Linked DNA regions of Homo sapiens: region 1 is linked to region 2. The links are contacts of gene promoters, found by promoter capture Hi-C in blood cells and fetal thymus (Javierre and others, 2016). All regions are on one chromosome and are shown on one strand. Each heading gives the region's core, a stretch centred on a gene start or on the middle of the fragment in contact. The rest is flanking DNA. Distances are from core to core; before and after follow the strand shown.

The links. The method cuts DNA at HindIII sites, captures the fragments that hold promoters and counts their contacts. A CHiCAGO score of 5 or more calls a contact.
Region 1: a fragment that was not itself captured here is called in contact with the fragment with the promoter of NLRC4 in region 2 in 1 of 17 cell types (neutrophils); the score reaches 5.7 in neutrophils.

What each region holds. Positions count from the first base shown.
Region 1 is chr2:36,961,685-36,964,868 of GRCh38, forward strand. All of the region lies in intron 1 of STRN (striatin), which reads right to left. Among named protein-coding and RNA genes, the nearest start is that of STRN, 3.3 kb to the right of the region's middle. RefSeq lists a silencer at 812-1,007. The HindIII fragment of the contact is 2,760 bases long and covers 410-3,169 here.
Region 2 is chr2:32,263,509-32,266,422 of GRCh38, forward strand. It overlaps NLRC4 (NLR family CARD domain containing 4), which reads right to left and starts at 1,378. Exons shown (of 9, transcript NM_001199138.2): 1 at 1,230-1,378. The HindIII fragment of the contact is 10,627 bases long and covers 1,151-2,914 here.

The sequences.
Region 1 (3,184 bases), core at 540-3,039, 4.7 Mb after region 2:
AGGGGTCCCTTTTAAAGATGGTGTCACTCTTTTGCTTAAAACATTCCGACGGCTGCTCAGCTTGCTGAGGTATAAGGCCAAAGTCCTTACAATGGGCAAGACCCTGTCTGACATGACTTCTTCCATTAGTACCTGTTTGACATGACTTCTTCCATTCTCTTCCTCTACTCTAGCCACTTTTCCCTCCTTGATATTCCTTAAATATTCCAAGCGTGCTCCCTTCCCCCAGCTGTTCCTTCTGTGTAGAAAGCTCTTTCCTCACCTTAGAGATCACCTTTTCAGGTCTTAGCTCGAATGGCATCTTATCAGTGAATCCTTTCTTCCCCATTCCACCCTCTCAAATCCTCTTATTTTCTTTCCCAACATTCTATGTATTTATTTATCACTGTCTGCCTGCCTCAACAATTTAAGCTTCATAAGGGCAAGATCTGTATTTTTGCTGTTGTATCTCCGGTATCTAGAACAAGGTCTGGCATGAAGTAGATGCTTGAAAAATATTTGGGGAGTGAAAATACAAATTATTAATGCCAAAACCCAGAAAATACAAGTTATTAATGCCAAAACTCTAGCATACAGCCTCCACACCACATGCCCTAAGCTACTCAATCTTGCCACCTTTTTCATACAACTCTAACACTTACAGGTAAATATCAGGGCCTCTCCTACACCACACACCACACACATATCAAAATCTAGGGCCAACATTTTTTATTTTTTATTTACATGCCTGCTTTCTCATAAGTCAGTAATTTTCAAATACTGAGCCTTAGGTTCTCATGAACTCATAAAGTTCTTTACTCCTGCTATTCTCCCCATTCACTGCTGGCTCTTCTCTCCTTCACTATTCTTTTTTTTTTTCTTAAGATGGAGTCTCATTCTGTCGCCAGGCTGGAGTGCAGTGGCACGATCTCAGCTCACTGCAACCTCCGCCTCCCAGGTTCAAGCGATTCTCCTGCCTCAGCCTCCAGCACACACCACCATGCTCAGCTAATTTTTGTATTTTTAGCAGAGACAAGGTTTCACCATGTTGGCCAGGACGGTCTCGATATCTTGACCTCACGATCCGCCTGCCTTGGCCTCCCAAAGTGCTGGGGATTACAGGTGTGAGCCACCGCGCCCGGCCTCTCCTTCACTATTCTAAAGAAATTAGCCTTCTCCCCAAATGATAAACACTCTGATTCTTCTACAAGTTATATCGTACTAATAACTAGACTGCATGTTTCTTTGAGGTCATCTAGCACAATGCCTCACATACAGAAATTTTTCTCAAATATTATTAGTATTCCTTCTCCAATTCCTTTCACAAATGTAAAGCTCACTAATAATCTTAATCATTCTTTTTTTCCCCCCATGAACTACTGCCTAATCTCAACTGGATGTGAGGAGGGGAGCATTACCAAAAATAAAAAGAGAATTTATCAAATAAGATGAGCAAGAGTGAAATAAGTGACAAATAAATAGGTTTTTGCTATAACGTGGCCCTTTCCTTACTCCCAAGATCTGAAGGAGGGAGGAAGCAGTAAAGGCAGGCCAGGCAGATGAGAGCTTGGATTGCCTTTCACAAGTCTTCCCTGGCAACCTGAAAGAGCAGGACTGACAGGTTCTTGAAGAGGCAAATTTGACTTCATCTTAAAGGTATTTGTGTTGACTCTGGTGTTAATGGCTTAGGAAGAGATTTAAAAATTAAAAGGAGGACACCAACTGAGCCGTATTTCATCACAACGCATTCAACTATTTTACTTCCTATTGTGTTTCTAAGAAAATTCCAGTAGCAAAAGAAAAATAAAGAAGATTCAAATGTAACGATGGTAATAATTTTTTTTCCAATTACACTAATAAGGGGGGACAAAGACCAGAGATTACTGCAAACTCTTCCCCCCAAAATATATCATATTCATCCTGTTAGGAAAATGACACATTTTTAAAGTTTCTCTGTGGAAACTTTAATTGGAACACAAAACAGAAAATGCTGTCAAAAAAGTAGTGTCCTTGGCCGGGCACAGTGGCTCACGCCTGTAATACCAGCACTTTGGGAGGCTGAGGCAGGCAGATCACTGAGGTCAGTAGTTCAAGACCAACCTGGCCAACATTGTGAAACCCCGTCTCTACCAAAAATACAAAAATAAGCCAGGCATGGTGGTGCATGACTGTAATCCCAGCTACTTGGGAGGCTGAGGCAGAAGGATTGCTTAAACTTGGGAGGCTGAGGCAGAAGGATTGCTTAAACCTGGGAGGCGGAGGTTGCAGTGAGCTAAGACTGCACCACTGCACACCGGCCTGGGCAACAGAGCGAGACCCTCTCTCCAATAAAAGGAAAAAAAAAAAGGAGTCTCTTTAATATGATAAGCACCCATGGGAAAGCTACCTGAAGTTAATAAACATTTGCCACAAACAACCCAGGAAGGGGTGTTTGGAGATGTGTGCATAAAAACTGAAGATCAACTACAGTTACCAGTAAATTGAAAAGTTTAAACGAGGAGAGGGAGTGAACGGGGCGGGGCGGGGGGAAGGATGGGTTGGAATTCCCCAACTTCTACAGGTAGAAAGGTAAGCATTGTTTTCTGGTGTGTGTGTGTGTTTTGTTTTTGTTTTTTTTTTTTTAACCAAATTAGTGTGAGTTATCTATATTCCCAAAACTGGAAAAGAAATTAAATTTTAAGTAACTAATACAAAAATCATTCCCCACAACTGCACAACATTAAAGTTAAACTTTGCCTTTAACATTTCCTTGAATCCTGAAATCCACACCTTTTATAGAATGCGCTGCTAATAAAGATCAATCTGTAAGTATTCAAATTTGTTGGAGACTATATAAACAAGGTCAAAGAAGACTTGCAAATATCAGATAGACTAGATCGACTAAATACTACAGCAATATAACAATAGGAATGAAAAAGTTGCCAAATAATATAAACATGTAACTACAGACTTACAAGGAAATCATAGAAACTACTGGTCACTCCCTAACTTCATTCAGCTGCTCATTTGTCATCTCTCAGAGGCCTACCCTGACTACCCCATCTAAAATAGCTGCCCCTATCACACGCTATTCCTGAACTCTGACTTATTTCTTCCTCACAGCAGTTGCCACTATAAGCCATTATATTCTATAGGCGCATTTGCTGGACTGTTTGCCTCTCCACTAAAACATAAACTCCATGAGGGCAGAAGCTTGGTCGGTTTT
Region 2 (2,914 bases), core at 128-2,627:
TCCCCCAAATCCATATGTTGAAGCCCTGAACCTCAGAATGTGACTGTATTTGCAGACAGAGCCTTTAAAGAGGTCATTAAGCTCAAATGAGGCTGTTATGAGAAGAGGAAATCGGGACACACAAAGGGAGATACCAGGAATGTGCATACAGAGAGAAAAGGCCAAGGAGGGAGGCGTGGGGAGAAGCCAACCCTGCTGACACCTTGGTCTTGGACTTGCAGCCTCCAGAACTGTGGGAATATAAATTTCTGTTGTTTAAGCCACCCAGTCTATGGTATTTTAAACACATTAATACGACTAATATTATAAAAGTGTGTGAACAGTTAAGAAGTGTGCTGACCAGGTTCTATCCTAGTTTTGTAGACAATTAGCAGTGTGATGTAGGGCAGGACATTTAACTCCTCTCTACCACATTTTCCACCTCTCAAAGCCAGGCTGCAAGGATCTACTGAGATAATGTACATAAAGACCCTATCACGAAATAGGTGTCCCGTAAAGGGTGATTTCCTTCACTTCTGTCTCCAAATATCAGGTTTCTCATCAGTAACTTGGGAGATTGGATGGACTAAGTAGTCCACCTCGTTCCTTTCAGCTTTGATCATCTGTGATTCTAACAACAGTCTTAGCAACAAGAGTGAGTTTCCTGGCCGGGCACGTTGGCTCACACCTGTAATCCCAGCACTTTGGGAGGCTGAGGTGGGCAGATCACGAGGTCAGGAGTTGAGACCAGTCTGGCCAACATGGTGAAACCCTGTCTCTACTAAAAATACAAAAATTAGCTGGGGCGCGGTGCCGGGTGCCTGTAATCCCAGCTACTTGGGAGGCTGAGGCAGGAGAATTGCTTGAACCCAGGAGGCAGAGGTTGCAGTGAGCCGAGATCACGCCACTGCAGTCCAGCCTGGGTGACAGAGCAAGACTCTGTCTCAAAAAAAAAAAAAAAAAAAGAGTGAGTTTCCTTTCTGTAATGCCAAAAAGTGTTTCCAAAGTCCTTTCCATCTCACAGTAGTCCAAGGGGTACATGTACCCCTTGAACCTGATGAAGCCCCAGCAGACCCGATTAACCACCCCTAAAGGTTTCTCGGCAGGCAAATCCAGCCAGGCATGCAAATCACACTCGTCAATGTTAAGGCTTTTGTACATCCCAGACACAAGCTTTAAATGAATGTAAACCCAGATTTTAATATTTGGGCCCCAGACCTTAAAAATCCCATTCTCTCTACCCACAGTACCTGGCTGAGCAATCCAATTGCCCTCTTCTTGGGAGACCAAGACATGTTTTTAAAATAAAGTTTCTTTGTATTTGCTTTCCGTTTCAGTGAGGCCTCGAGTTCTTGTAGACCAGATACCTTCTTGTTCTGTGAGAGGACAGTGTACAGAGAGGGGAACTGCTGAGCAGTTCCTTTTTTTTTTTTCAAAGCACAGTAAGAGTGGTTTGGACACAAGTACTACCAGTTCAGAAAGGGAAGATGGGTGTAGGCAGGAGTAGCCGGGGAAGAAGTAGAACTTCAGAGTAAAAGATGCAAGAGCTAGAAATTCCGTCAAGAAAGGAATTACTCATTTGTTTCCTGTTTGTTCACAACATATGAATTCATTGCTGTTGAGTTACTTATTCTATACCTTAAAATGAAACAAAGTCTTCTGAACATCCAACATATATTTTTTTTCTTTTTCTTTCTTTTTTCTTTTTTTTGAGACAGAGTCTTGTTCTGTCACCCAAGCTGGAGGGCAGTGGCACAATCTCAGCTCACTGCAACCTCTGCCTCCCGGGTTCAAGCGTTCCTCCCGCCTCAGTCCTCCCAGTAGCTAAGACTACAGGCGTGCACCACCATGCCCGGCTAATTTTTGTATTTTTAGTAGAGACAGAATTTCACCATGTTGGCCAGGCTGGTCTCGAACTCCTGACCTCAGGCAATCTGCCAGCCTCAGCCTCCCAAAGTGCTGGGATTACAGGCGTGAGCCACCATGCCCAGCCACAACATGTATTTTTAATGCTTAACCATGGGAGATAGAGCGGTAAATGAAATGAGCCAGCTTAGTTGGCTAAAGCACATTGCTACTGCATTCAAGGTCATGCTTACCCCTGTACCTTGAATCCCAGAGGACTTCCAGCAGATGTGTTCTCTCAGTCAGCAGGGTTCTGGGCAAGGTCACACAGGGCAAACAGATCACCAGTTTTGGTCCACTCCACCGATGACGCACGGGGACACCCTCCGGAGTATAAACAGCCAGGGGCTTGCACAGGCACACTCACATTGGACGTTTGTGTTCACAGACTCCAGGAGGCCAGCTTATACTCAGCTGAGGACTGAAGAAATCTCTCTGCACTTCCCTTGAGGATGACATTCTTGCATACTCTTTCCTCTGTCTTTGCATAAACTACCAGGAACATGTCTTTGTGTTACATAACTTCTTATTTCAAAAAGAGCATTCTGACAGTAGCCTATCTGCCATAGAGGGATACCAAAGTTTCCCGGCAAATAAATGTCTACATCCTGGGTTTTCTAAGGGGGCATCAGTGTCAGTGTTTCCCAACTTGTGAGGTGGGTTTCTCTGAAGTGAGATTGAGGGCTACACTATCAGCTAGATTTTTAAATTGTAATGAAACCTATATATAAACATATGTTCAAGAGAAAAAACTGCAAAGACAGCCACCAAAATAGTAATGATGCTTATTGCTGGGGAATACAATTATAAGCAATTTTAAATTTCTGTCTTTGGCTTATCTGTATATTCTAATTTTATTTATCAACTTATTTATTTTTTATTTTATTTGTTTATTTATTTATTTATTTATTTATTTGAGACAGAGTCTCGTTCTGTTGCCCAGGCTGGAGTGGAGTGCAGTGGCTCAATCTTGGCTCACTGCAACCTCTGCCTCCCAGGCTCAAGCAATTCTTGTGCCTCAGCCTCTCAA